Linked DNA regions of Homo sapiens: regions 1 and 3 are each linked to region 2. Evidence: promoter capture Hi-C in human tissues and cell types (Jung and others, 2019). All regions are on one chromosome and are shown on one strand. The core of a region is centred on a gene start or on the middle of the fragment in contact, and the rest is flanking DNA. Distances in the headings are between cores, read along the strand shown.

Region 1 (4,472 bases), core at 1,850-4,349, 430 kb after region 2:
GCTCACGCCTGTAATCCCAGTGCTTTGGGAGGCCGAGGCAGGCGTATCACTTGAGGCAAGGAGTCTGAGACCAGCCTGGCCAAACATGGCGAAACCCCGTCTCTACTAAAAATACAAAAATTTGCCGGGCCTGCTGGTGCACGCTTGTAATCCCAGCTACTTGGGAGGCTGAGGCATGAGAATCACTTGAAACCAGGAGGCAGAAGTTGCAGTGAGCTATGATTGCCCCCCTGCACTCCAGCCTGGGTGACACAGCGAGACTCTGTCTAAAAAAAAAAAAAAGAGCAGCCTGGGCAACACAGTAAGACCTCCATCTCTACAAAATAAAAAATAAAAATTAGTCAGGAGTGGTGGCACTTATCACAGCTACTTGGGAGGCTGAAGTGGGAGGATCACCTGAGCCCAGGAGGTTGAGGCTGCTGTGAGCTGATGGTGCCATCGCACTCCAGCCTGGACAACAGAGTGAGACCCTGTCTCTAAACAAAAATAAATTGTTTTTTTTTCTACTGGACTTAAACAATCTGCCCTCCTTGGCCTCCCAAAGCACCAAGCCTGTGTCTTCTTTTTCATCACAGCCGTGGCAGAAGGAAGGAGGTGACTGGAAGCCCCACTCTCTCTGAGTAGCTGAGGGAATACACCCTGACTATAGGCCGAGACAGTCCACATCAGCTCTTCAATAGGATTTAGTGGCTTTGCATAAAATGGAAAAGCAGCTGTGATTGCAAGAGAAATTAAAAATAACCACCATCTGAAATGCAAATTGAAAACAGTGAGACAACACATGTCACTCTGGCAGGTGACCCACTGTGCTGGTGAAGGCATGCAGGCACTCTCAGACTTCCGCAGAGAGACCTGAGTAATCAATTGACTTCCACAAAGGGCGACTTGCCAACAGCTATCAAAAGTACTCAGGCACATCCCACTTGGCCCAGCAATTCCACTTCCAGGAATTTCTCCTGCAGAAATACATGTGCACAAACAACGTAGGAAAGCACTGTTTATAGTAACAACCCAACTAGGACAGACCAGGTATATTTAGACAACAAACAAGGAAGCTTTTTACTAAATTGGGATGATCTCTAAGAAGAAGGTACGTAGAAAAAGCAAGGTGGGAGAACACGCTATGTGCTTGTACTATGCACGTCAATGAAAAAATACACAAAGAATTGACAGGCCAGGTGGAGTGGCTCACACCTAATCCCAGTACTTTGGAAGACTGAGATGGGAGGGTTCCCTGAGGCCAGGACTTCAAATCAGCCTGGGCAACATAGCAAGACCCCCCCACATCTCTACAAAAAAATTAAGAAAAAAATTAGCCGGGCATGGTGGTGTGTACCTGTAGTCCCAACTACTGAGGAAACTGAGGTGGGAAGATCCCTTGAGCCAGGAGGTCGAGGCTGCATGGAGCTTTGATCGTACCACTGCCCTCCAGCCTGAGCAACAGAGTGAGAAAAAAAACAGACTTTTTTTCTATTTCTGGAAAAAAATAAAGAATTTATAAGTATGATGGTTCTGGTAATAGAAGTAGGTGGCTAGGCAGAGTGGACACTTCACACTGCATACTCCCCTATTTTCCGAAATCTGAGTTTTTTTTTTTTTTTTTTTTTTTTTTGAGATGGAGTCTTGCTCTGTCACCCTGGCTGGAGTACAGCAGCACCATCTCGGCTCACTGCAACTTCCGCCTCCTGAGTTCAAGCAATTGTCCTGCCTCAGCCTCCCCAGTAGCTGGGATTACAGGCGTGCACCACACGCCCACCTAATTATTGTATTTTTAGTAGAGACAGGGTTTCACCATGTTGGCCAGGCTGGTCTCAAACTCCTGACCTCGTGATCCGCCCACCTCGGCCTCCCAAAGTGCTGGGATTACAGGTGTGAGCCACCATGCCCAGCCAATCTGAGCTATTTAAAAACTAAAGGTAAAATTTTAAAAGGGGAAGGGGAAAATGGGAAGTCATTGTTTTAAGGGGACAGAGTTTCTGTTTGGGGTGAGAAAACTCTAGAAATAGTGGGGGCGTGGCACATGATTGGAATGAATGGCAGGGAACGGCACGCTTAAATGTTCCTGTACGTTTCACAGGAGAAGTCAATGCACACACAAGCGCCGCAACCCAGTCCAAGGCTTTGCTCCTACAGGGCCTTACAGGGGGTATTTGAGACGCCCACCTTAATGCAGGTTGGACCCAGCTCCGGGCTGCGGGGCTTCCCCGCCCCGGGGTCTTTCGTGTGAGCCCCGTGGCGGGGGATCCTGGCCCAGGACATGGCGCGGAGAAGGCTGTGGGCGGCGGGACAGGGTGCCTTCGGCTGCCGGGTTAAGAGTGGATCCCGGGATACATCCTCCAGCGCCTGCCCTCGGGCCTGTGTGCACCCCCATACCCAGCGGGGCCGTCCAAGAGCTTCAAGGAGGGCACAGCGCGACCCGCCCTCCCCTCAGCCCCGCACACCGTCCCACGGCCCCGCACAGCCTCCCTCCCACACAGCGCCCCACGGCACCCGCACAGCGCCCCACGGCCCCTTCATGGTCCCCGCACAGCGCCTCACAACCCGCACACAGCGCCTCACGGACCCTTTACGGCCCCCGCAGAGTCTCCCACACGGCGCCCCACACAGAGCCTCACGGACCCCGCACAGCGCCTCAAGGTCTCCGCACAGCCCCCAGCACAGCGCCTCACACAGCCCTTCGCACAGCCCCCCGCACAGCTCCTCACGGGCCCCACACAGCTGCCGCACAGCCCCGCACAAGCCCGCACAGCACCAGCAGACAGGTAGCCCCCACAGGCAACAGCGCCCACCTCGCCGCGCCCAGACCCCGGATCGCCGACGCGGACGCCAGGCGCCTGGGCACACGGCGCCTGCGCAGACAACACCACGCCCCAGGCCTGGCGAGCGCACCCTGCGGGTGGGGCGGACCTACGTCAGCAACCCATCGTCCGATCCCGTCCATTGGCTGAGAGGTAATGCGTGCGCCCGACTCGCCGCTGATTGGTCGGCGCGCGAGCAGCCGGGCTCGCACGGGCCAATCCTGTGGTAGCGCGTGAGGAGGCAGAGGCCTCTGGGGTGGGATCGCGGGCCGTAAGTGGCTGTGGAGCTGGGGTCACTGCGCGGTGGGACCATGGCCTCGGAGAAGCCGCTGGCGGCAGTCACTTGTACAGCGCCGGTCAACATCGCGGTCATCAAGTACTGTGAGTGCCGCGGGCCGGCCTGGGACGGGGATGGCCGGGAGCGAGGCCGGGTACGCGGGGGTCGCGCGCTGATTCGGCGGCGCGCTCCGTCCTGCCCTCCCAGGGCCTCGACAGACGGGGAAACTGAGGCTCAGGGAGGGGCGCGGCGGTGGTCGGGCGGGGCCGCGCGCTCCTTCGCGTGACAAGCTCGGCGCCACCCGTTCCCCCGCGACGGCTGCCGCCCCTGCAGGGTCGCCCGGCGCCTGCCCATTAGCGATTACCGAACTATCGAAATCATCAATCATCGATTCCCATGAATCGTAAGAATCCGCCGTGGTGGTGCGCGTTTGTGGCTCCAGCTACTCGGGAGGCTGAGGCGGGAGGATGGCCAGAGCCCGGGAGGTCGAGGCTGCAGTGAGCGGAAATCGCGCCACTGCTCCCCCAGCCCGAGACCCTGTGTCCCTCCCTCGCCCCGTTTCTCCCAGCGGTAACCTCCAAGGAGCGGTAATGGGGGGCCCGCAGGCCCACATCCGTGCCGGGGAGGCCGGTCCGCACCTGTGCGTTCACAGCCCCGCCCCTCCCCTCGCGCCGGGGTTACCTGGCCGCCACTGACCACTCATTTCTGTAACGTCATTTCAAAATGTTCTGAAACTGGAATCGCAGTTATGTGGCCCACCCAGTATCTTTTGAGTTTGGCTTATTTCATTCAGCATAGAATGTGGACGTGCCCCGGGATTGTATCAGTGCTTTGCCCCTCTGTTGCTGAGCCAGTCCGTGGAATCCATGGACCACCCTCTCTCTAGCCAAGGCCTCACCCCGCAAAGAGCATCTAACGTTTTCTTTCTTTCTTTCTTTTCTTTCCAGAAGCCGCCACCACGACTGGCTAATTTTTTTGTGTTTCCCTTACCAATAAAGCTGCCATAAAATGTTGTATACAGGTTTTTGTGTGAACATACATTTCCATTCTTCTGGGATAAATGCCCAGGAGTGCGGTTGCTGGGTCAGATGGTAGATATATATATATGCCTCTCTGTCTCTCTCTCTCTTTCTATGTATATATGTATGTTTGTGTGTGTGTATATATATATACACCTGTATAGATATATGTGTGTGTATATGTATACACCTATATAGATGTATGTGTGTGTATATATACATATATATATTATATATATACTTTTTTTTTTTAAAGAAACTGTCTAATTGTTTTTCAGAGTGGCTGGGCCATTTTGCATCCCTACGGTGATGCAGATTTTCCGCATCCTCACCAGCATTTGGTGGAGTTGCTGTTTTTCATTTTAGCCGCGTCCTGGT
Region 2 (4,580 bases), core at 1,384-3,883:
TCTTCACGGTCATCGGATCAGAGCCCTGCCTCGAACACGCAGACAGAGCCTACTCAGGGCAGATGGCTGTGCGCGGTCTTCCTGCACACCTCCCGGTCCAGAGGCACCCCAGCTTCCTCAGAGAGAACCTCACCTTTCAACCACTGGGACCCCTTCTACCGTGGGGCTCCCCATCACCACCAGGAGCACAGTGTGGAGGGACACTGCCCACCAGACAAATGCAGTTCAGTCAGGGGCTTCCACCCTCAGCCAGCTTCATACCCCTGCTACGCAGCACCCTGATAACCCGAGGTCAGCGGCGTCACCACGTGGCTGGGCAAGGACTCTAGTCAGAAGCTGAGAAAGGTGCCTGAGCCAGGACAGCCTCCTTGGTGAAGGCGTACTGGAACCACTGAAAACAGTGGCTCTCCAGCCCTCGGGGAGGGAGGCAGGACCTCTCGGTGTTCTAGCCATCAGGTTCTGAGATCAGACCACTAAGGCACTGGGGCTTCTCGGGAACACACATGCAGCGCAGCGGGATGCATCTTTTCCCTCCTAACTGGAGTGCTGGTTAATGGCAGAGTTAGTCACCACAGGCTTCGACTTGAACGGCTGCTGCCTTTGTCCTCATTTCCTCACTGGCCTAGCCCTTCACTTCCCACCGCTAAGATGGCACAGTAACAAGACCTGCCTCACAGGCTTCACGTGAGAATGTACGAATGGCCCGGCACAGGCCAGGCAGAAGACAAACGGCCGCGCCGTGCTCAGCAGGGTGCTCCCCATGGAGCCTCGCAACAAAAATTACTAGATGAGAATGACACTCGCATTCAAATGAAGGGCTGCTTTCAACATGAATAAAACGACACCTGACCTGTTCACCACCACACCTGACACCCCCGCCCCCCCAGACCTTGTGTTTGAAGTGGATGCCGGCACTTCCTCCTGTCGGCTGCCCCGATGAGAGCGTGGGGCAGAGGAGGGCTGTGCTCGGCCTGCGGGGCAGGATGCGTTTCAGCATCACACCTGTGGTTTGGAGGGTTATTTTCAAAATTACATTTTTAAGTAACAGACATTCACATTGCATTCATGAGCAGTACATTCAAATAAAAAAAACCAAAAAGGAAAAATACACTTGAAACCCATATCCATTTTAGGAAGAAAAATACTATTTTAAAAATGCCATCTGGAAAGGTGACACTTACAACTATCCCAAGCCCACAGTTTAATCCGCCATTTCTGTCTGCCTTGAGGAGATGGTTCAGAGCCAAAGGAGCAAGAGCAAGGGAAGCCTCATCTTATGTCCTCCAACACCTGCGGAGAGGACACCAGCCTGAGCCAGGCTTCACGCTACAAAGCTCGCAGGGTCCCCAGGGTCCACCGGTAGTAACACCCGTGCTCCTGGGTCCACCATGTGAACCCCCTCCTCAACAAGGTCTCAGCCTTGGGCCCTAACACGAATGTCTGTCCTCCCAGGATGGGAAAGCAACAACTATGCCCCAGACACAATTCGTGTTCCTATCTCTAAACGTGTTCCCTTTCTAGCAAATTCCTAATCATTCTTCCAAGCCCAGTTCAAATATCACCTCTTCTTTTTCAGTTTTATTATTTATTGAGACAGTGTCTTGCTCTGCCACCTAGGCTGGAGTGCAATGGTGCTGTCATGGCTCACTGCAGCCTCCGATTCCTGGGCTCAAGAAATCCTCGTGCCTCAGCCTAACCAGTAGCTGGAAGTGCAGGTGTACGCCACCACACCCAGCTAATTTTTACATTTTTTTGTAGAGATAGGGGTCTCACCATGTTGCCCAGGCTGGCTTTGAACTCCTGGCCACAAGTGATCCTCCTGCCTCTGCTGCCCAAAGCGCTGGGATTACAGGCATGAGCCACTGCACCTGGCCTGCCTGGTGGAATTTAGACTCAGGACAGCAACATCAACTCCTGACTGCACCGGGCCTCACCCCTTTAAACCTTCCCTCTCTCCAGGGAATGGGCTGCCTGCAGTACCTTCCAAATACTTCACGGCCGGCCGCACGTCTCCATTGCTTGCTCATAGATCTACATGCCCTCAGGGGCTAGGCCGGCTGTGAACCTGTGCCCCACGCGCCCAGCAAGGTGCACGCAGCAAACAACTAAAACGGGGAGTACTTCAAGGGTGACTTCTGAAGCCCAATGAGAAATGGAAGTGAATTTATTCCAAACACAACCAAAGACGATTCGTTCTGAGGATGCCTGAACACGGACCCCGCCGGCTCGACGGTATCACCGGGCCCGGCGTCCGCACAGCTTCTCTCCCCGCACCCCGCGCGGGGGCCCCGCTCCCCACCGGACACGAGAGGCTCGGCGTCCCGGGAAGGCCGACGCCCGGCCCCAGGCGGCTCGCGGGGAAGCGACCGCGCCACGGGCCACGGCTCAAGCCCAGCTGCGACCCAGGGGCGGGCGCCGGAGCCCGCGCCCCCGAGAGCTCTGCGCCCGGCCGACCCCGCCGCGGTCCCGTGGGCCCCGCCGCCCGCACCTACGAGACGGCCGCGGCCACGGGGCAGGATCTGCCTCGCCACAACTCTTCCTCGTCCTCCGCCGCGCGCGCGCCGGGGTCGGGCCGGGTTCCGGCCGGGTCCCGCGGGGTCGTGAGTCGGGCCGGACCAGTTCCGGCGCCCAACAGCTTCCCCGGCGCGGCGCGTCCGTCGCCCAAGCGCGTCCCCCCGGCGCGGCGCCGTGGCGGCGGGTTCCGGGCGCGCGTGTTCCCCTGTCCCGCCCGTCCCGTCGTGGCGGGGTCGGGGCCGCGGGCGTCTCGTGAGCCGTGGCCGAGGCAAGGCGCCGTGGTCTCCGCTAGCCCAGGGCTGCCCAGATCAGAACGGCGCGCGGGACCACTCCCAACGCGGATTGCTGGGCCTCGCCCCGTCCTCCCAAAAGGGGCTCTCTGGGCTTTGCGGCTGGGGGTCTGCACGCTGAGCTCCTGGGTGATTTTATTATTATTATTATTGTTGTTACTTTTTCTTATTATTATTATTATTTTGAGATGGAGTCTCGCTCTGTCGCCCAGACTAGAGTGCAGTGGTGTGATCTCGGCTCACCGCAACCTCCGCCTCCCGGGTTCAAGTGATTCTCCTGCCTCAACCTCCCAATTAGCTGGGACTACAGGCGCCCGCCATCATGCCTGTCTAATTTTTGTATTTCTTGGGTGATTTTAAACGGACCGCATTTGAGAATCTCTCCTCGAAGGGACTTGGGAACCAGGATACGAATATGAAGCGAGACTGTTGGATGGACAGTGGCGGAAAACATTTAAAGCCAAACACAAAGTCCAGTTGGCTGAAATTTGAGGGTTTTTCCCCTAAAATGAATACTAATAACACAAAGACATGTACTGGCAAACAGTAGTACAAATTATCTGCAGAACCGTCCTGGTGTGATGGCTCACGCCTGTAATCCCAGCACTTTGGGAGGCCGAGGTAGGCAGATCACGAGGTCAGGAGTTCAAGACCAGCCTGACCAACATGGTGAAACCCTGTCTCTCCTAAAAATACAAAAATTAGCCGGGAGTGGTGGCAGGTGCCTGTAATCCCAGTTACTCGGGAGGCTGAGGCAGGAGAATCTCTTGAGCCTGGGAGGTGGCGACTGCAGTGAGCTGAGATTGCGCCACTGCACTCCAGCCTGGGCAGCAGAGTGAGACTGTCTCAAAAAAAAAAAAAAATTATCTGCAGAACCTTGCACAGTTTTTTTGTAAGTGTATTATTTTCCATGCCCATCTTCCTCTCTTGTGATGATTGCTGGGGCAGCAGTTGTGTCCTTGGAAAGCTCAGGAAAGGGCACTTCAGGAGCCCGAGGATGGTTTTCCTGGGAGGAAGGAGCTGGATCTGGGGGAAGTTTGTAACACAGAGCGTGGGAGAACAAACCCAAACTTCTAGTGCCTCTGGTTGCCACCCTGCTAGGTATCATGCAGAAAAAGCAAGTCCAACCCTCTGCCACTGGGACAGGCTTGATCTGGTGTCAGAATTCTGTCTGCTTCCAGGACTCAGCAGGCTGAATGGTGTTTCCGACGAGGGCAGTAGGAAGAGTAAGGAGGGCGTCTAACATCAGGATTCAGCCCCAGGACGTGTGTGCGCAAATTTCTATCCCTGGGAAGTTGAAGAGCTCAGGCTGCGTCACCCACCTAGAGACAGGACTTGGGACAGGGTGACAGCTCCCGTGGTCCTTGGCCATGGCTCTGTGAGGGTGGCAGTGGGGGGAGGGTGCAGTCTCCGAGAAATGGCCCAGTCATCCTATGAGCAGGGGTCCCATCTGTGCCTCGGCTCTGGTCAGCATCATAGTGGCAGGTGGGAAGCAGGAGCAGTCAGGGATTAGCAGACATTGGAGGACAGCCTCTAGCCAGAGAGACGTGGGCTGAAACAACCAGCAGAACAACTGCAGGCAGCCAGGCTGTGCAGAGTGAAGAGACCCCCAAAACCACCCCCTGTTAATACCCTCAGGGAGACAAGGGAAGCGACAGCCCCCATGAGTCCAGAGCGAGATGCCCCGAGAAAGAGCGTTCCAGTAACATAAAGGGGGGCTGGAGGGGTCAGAATACAACAGCCTGAGTAAAAACCCTAAGGGAAGGGCTAAAGGAC
Region 3 (4,448 bases), core at 881-3,380, 310 kb before region 2:
AGGAAAGAACATCAACCAAGCAAGAGTCAATAGTGTGATTTACAGTGGTTCTTTTATTGTGTAGTACATTCAGCGTCAAGGTGGCATTTGGATCCATGATGCCTTCATCCTCAGAATGACCTTGCGAGGTAGGCGTGGCTGAGCACATGGCCAGCTGGGCCTGTCCCTGCCTGTTCTCCAGGCTTCACCTCTGTGTGCTTGTAGGAAGGTTGAACATGCCACTTTGTGGCATCCAGAGTTTCTCGCCCTCAGGATCCATAGTAGTGACTGCGTCTGTCTTCTCCTGACCTAGGCATTAGCCTGATAGAGTGCTGGTAACTTTGCGAGTCAACAGTGTTTTCAAAAGCAGCTTTTCCTTCTCTTCTCTTTACCCCATACCCTTCAAACTGTTGGCTCATTTTCTGGAGGACACCAGAATAACAAAATAATATTTTGTGGCTATTAATCCTTTAAAAGCAGAGGAAAATTTTTCCTAGCAGGAGACATAATAGGGTTGTACCTTTTCAGTGTTTTCAGTGAAGGCAATTTTTTTCATGCCCTTTGATTACAAAAATGTATTCCTTCCTGCACTTCCATTTTCCTTAGTTACACAGATGTTGATGTTCTCAGAGTCTTTGCTGGTGATTTAGTGCCTTGGTGAGGGTGGATAGGAGACTAGAACAGGGTTCTACAGTCGGCCAAACTGGGCTTCCCCTCTCAACCCCATGCTGCCTGAGGCTGGTGGGTCGAGCCACCTGTGGGCTGTGTCCATGACTGTCTGTTGGTGCTGAGAGGACTCCTGATTCTTCACAATCATGTGCCGGGCTAGCAGCTTATGTGATGCAGCGTTTGCTCTGAGAGTTTCCTGTAGTTTGGAATTTTAGTTATAAGTTTGCCATAGTTCTGAGTCTCTTGCATTCTTTCACCCTATTTTAGTTTTATAATCTTGCTCCTTTCTGTGCCCTATAATATAAAGATGTGTTGTTGTTTTGCTTTTTTAAGAGACAAGTCTTGCTTTGTTGACCAGGCTGGAGTGCAGTCATGGCTTACTGCAGCCTCAACTCTTGGACTGAAATGATGCCCCTTCCTCAGCCTTCCGAGTAGCTGGGACTCCAGACGCATGTCACCACACCCGCCTAATTTTTTTATTTTTACTTTTTTAGAGGTGGGCTTGCTCTGTTGCCCAGATTGGCCTCAAACTTATGGCCTCAAGTCATCTTCCTGCCTCAGCCTCTTGAGTAGCTGTGATTAAAGGCACGTGCTGTCGTGCTCACCTAAAGAAGTGTTTTGAAATCCCTTCCCGGGGAGGCAGCAGGGCTTTTATGTAAGTGGTCTCTGGTCTTTGTCTGTTTGGTGGTGTACTTTTTTTTTTTAAGCTACTGTCATTGCCCAGTCGTAGTTGAGCGTGTGTCCAGTTGCTTTATGTGTGGGCTTCCTGGGGGTGCCCTCCCAGAGCGCGGGGCCTCGCTTACTGAGAAACTTCCTCGGGACTTGGGTTCCCCGCTCTGCCCTCACCTGCGTGTGCTCTGCTGCTTCCTATCCTCAGACAGATGAGCTCCTCCATGTTCTTCCACGCGGTGCTGGGGCCAGTCAGGAGGGGCCGGTCAGGAGGGGGGAGCAGGCCACACAGGATTGCTCACAACATGTGCGTGGCTGGTGTGAGTGAGTGCGCATCAGATACTTCCTGTCAGTGCCCGTAAAGCAGAAGAGAGGGAGCGGATCAGGCCCTAGGGAGTGCGGGGTCCACCTGCCAACAGGAAGTTTCTCTGTAGTGTTTTACCTGAAAGCACGAGGGCACGTCACGCTGAGAGGTTGATGATGTGTCCACGTGCAGTGATGACAGCAGCGTTCCAGGCCACCCGCCACCACGCAGTTGAGCGAGGCAGTGCCCATGTGGAGCCTGGTGTTTGATGGTGGGGCTGAGGTGACTGGCCTTGCTCTAGAGCTGGAGCCCAGGCGGAAAAGAGGTCTCCACTGGCAGGCTAGGTTGCCTGCTTTGTTGGGAGTGGCGCAGTGCTGGCCCTGATGGGGCTCCTTCCCCCGGGAGAGCCTGGAGGGTCTGCAGGCCCCACCCCGCCCACCTCCTCCCGCAGTGCCGCCCCCCCAACCTCATTCCGCAGAACCCCCACCTCACCTCATCCCACAGAGCTGTCCCCTCACCTCACCCTGCAGATACCCCCTATCTCACCCCACAGAGCCCCTGCCCCCTCTCCTAACCTCGCAGAGCCACCTCACCTCCTCCCGCAGAACCACCCCCTTCACCTCACCCTGCAGTGCTGCCCCCCCCACCCACAGCTCACTCAAGGCTTGAACTCCCAGGCTCAACCAATCCTCCCACCTCAGCCTCCCGAGTAGCTGGGACTCTGCTGGTGTGCGGCACCATACGCAGCAATTTTTAAATGTTTTTCTAGAGGCGGGGTCTCCCTGTCATTCCCAGGATGCTCTTGAACTCTTGGAGTCAACCGATCTTCCCGCCTCGGCTTCCTCATGTGTTAGGTACAGGCTGAGCTACTACCTAAATTTAAATTGATGTGCCTACCGATTTAAATAAGCGCTCAATCCCAGATACCTTATTGTGGCTGGCTAAGGTTAGGAGTTCATGTGAACTGTACATTAGTATCGCTGAGACAAGCCTCGTTCTTTCTACAAAGAACTGGCGTACGTCACGTGTAGGCACCCAGATATAATTGGTTCCACATTTCGCCTGCCTTTGTTGGAAGGGCTGTGCTTTCATGCAGTGAACTGTAGGTCGTCCTCCTTACTCTAAAAGTTACACAGATTCAGTGCCTTATGGAAAAGTCAGGATTTCCATTAAAGAGGTCCATGGACAGAGAGTGAAACTTGGTGTGGGGGTCTTTCGGGGCTGCCGTGATAAATCACCACAGACCAGGAGCTTTCACAGCAAGGATCTGTTCTCCCACGGCTCTGAGACCAAGCTGTCTGCAGGGCCGGTTCCTTCTGCGGTGCTGGAGGGGTGGGGGCGGGCATCTGCTCCAGGCCTCTCTCCAGGTTCTGGGGGATGGGGGAGTCTCTGGTGTGCCCGGCGGGTTCTGGGGGATGGGGGAGTCTCTGGTGCGCCCGGGCTTGTAGACGCATCACCACGATCTCCGCCTCCCTCTTCACCCAGCGTTCTCCCTGCGTGCACAGCTCAGTGTCCACGTCTGCCCTTTGTAGAAGGAAGCTAGTTCTGTGGGGTGAGGGCCCACCCTAGCGATCTCACCTGGATCATCTGCAAAGACCATGTTTCCCAGGAAGGCCATCGTCTGTGGTGTTGGGGGGCTAGGACTTCAACATACCATTCTTGGGGGACACATTTCAACTCATAACACCAGTAAATAAAGCATAGAGAAGAAAGTAAAAATCGCCTGTAATCCTTCCACCCAAGATAAAACATGTAAATCTAAAATGTTGAATATATCATGTACTTTTTACAAAATAAGGATTACTCTGGATATAAGGCTTCACATTCTGCATTTTAAAGCTTAGCATTAATTTCCCATTATCCCAGCGTGATATTTAGTGGCTGCATAATCAAGAGAGAAATTTAATGCCAGACGCAGTGGCTCGTGCTGTAATCCCAGCACTTTGGGAGGCCAAGGTGGGTGGATCACGAGGTCAGGAGTTCGAGACCAGCCTGGCTAACATGGCGAAACCCGGTCTCTACTAAAAATCCAAATGTTAGCCGGGCGTGGTGGCGGCCGTCTTGGAAGGCTGAGGCAGGAGAATTGCTTGAACTTGGGAGGCAGAGGTTGCAATGAGTCGAGATCACACCATTGCACTCCAGCCTGAGCAGCAGAACAAGACTCCCTCTGGGGAGGGGGAGGGCGGGTGGGGGGGAGAGAGAAATATATAACATTACTGAGACAACTTGAGGGCCAGCGTGTTGTGGATTTGTCCACCCACACGCGGGGCCTCCCTTTCCATCTTGGTCTTGGGTGCCATGCCAGGCAGCCCCGGGGCAGACGGGGGATGTGTCTGTGAACCCGAGCAGGGTGGAGCCTGTGAGAGGGTGTCTGCAGAGGGTGGAGGGCGACAGGCGTCCAAGGTGTGTGCAGCTGGTCCAGGTGGCTGCAGGGGTTCCCGTCAGATGACCAGCCTCCAGCGCAGGGAAGCCTGGGGCAGCAGATGACCGGCCCCCAGCGCAGGGAAGCCTGGGGCAGCAGATGACCATCCCCCAGCGCAGGGAAGCCTGGGGCAGCAGATGACCGGCCCCCAGCGCAGGGAAGCCTGGGGCAGCAGATGACCGGCCCCCAGCGCAGGGAAGCCTGGGGCAGCAGATGACCATCCCCCAGCGCAGGGAAGCCTGGGGCAGCAGATGACCGGCCCCCAGCGCAGGGAAGCCTGGGGCAGCAGATGACCGGCCCCCAGCGCAGGGAAGCCTGGGGCAGCAGATGACCATCCCCCAGCGCAGGGAAGCCTGGGGCAGCAGATGACCGGCCCCCAGCGCAGGGAAGCCTGGGGCAGCAGAT

What was found. The method cuts DNA at HindIII sites, captures the fragments that hold promoters and counts their contacts. A contact is called where the count stands out against the background at its distance.
Region 1: a contact is called between the fragment with the promoter of MVD here and the fragment with the promoter of ACSF3 in region 2, in 2 of the 25 tissues and cell types used here (dorsolateral prefrontal cortex and mesenchymal stem cells).
Region 3: a fragment that was not itself captured here is called in contact with the fragment with the promoter of ACSF3 in region 2 in 1 of the 25 tissues and cell types used here (small bowel).

Annotation. Positions count from the first base shown.
Region 1 is chr16:88,661,718-88,666,189 of GRCh38, reverse strand. It overlaps MVD (mevalonate diphosphate decarboxylase), which reads left to right and starts at 3,099. Exons shown (of 10, transcript NM_002461.3): 1 at 3,099-3,179. The coding sequence starts at 3,110. SNAI3-AS1 (SNAI3 antisense RNA 1) reads right to left here and starts at 2,817. Exons shown (of 4, transcript NR_024399.1): 1 at 2,790-2,817. RefSeq lists silencers at 2,435-2,594, 2,935-3,354 and an enhancer at 2,805-2,854. The HindIII fragment of the contact is 7,255 bases long and covers 1-4,472 here.
Region 2 is chr16:89,091,905-89,096,484 of GRCh38, reverse strand. It overlaps ACSF3 (acyl-CoA synthetase family member 3), which reads right to left and starts at 2,633. Exons shown (of 11, transcript NM_001243279.3): 1 at 2,489-2,633. RefSeq lists enhancers at 461-630, 1,850-2,039 and a silencer at 2,460-2,869. The HindIII fragment of the contact is 24,302 bases long and covers 1-4,580 here.
Region 3 is chr16:89,400,455-89,404,902 of GRCh38, reverse strand. All of the region lies in intron 2 of ANKRD11 (ankyrin repeat domain containing 11), which reads left to right. The region is part of intron 1 of LOC128462377; the gene reads left to right. Among named protein-coding and RNA genes, the nearest start is that of ANKRD11, 88 kb to the left of the region's middle. RefSeq lists enhancers at 2,514-3,014, 3,015-3,515. The HindIII fragment of the contact is 6,709 bases long and covers 1-4,448 here.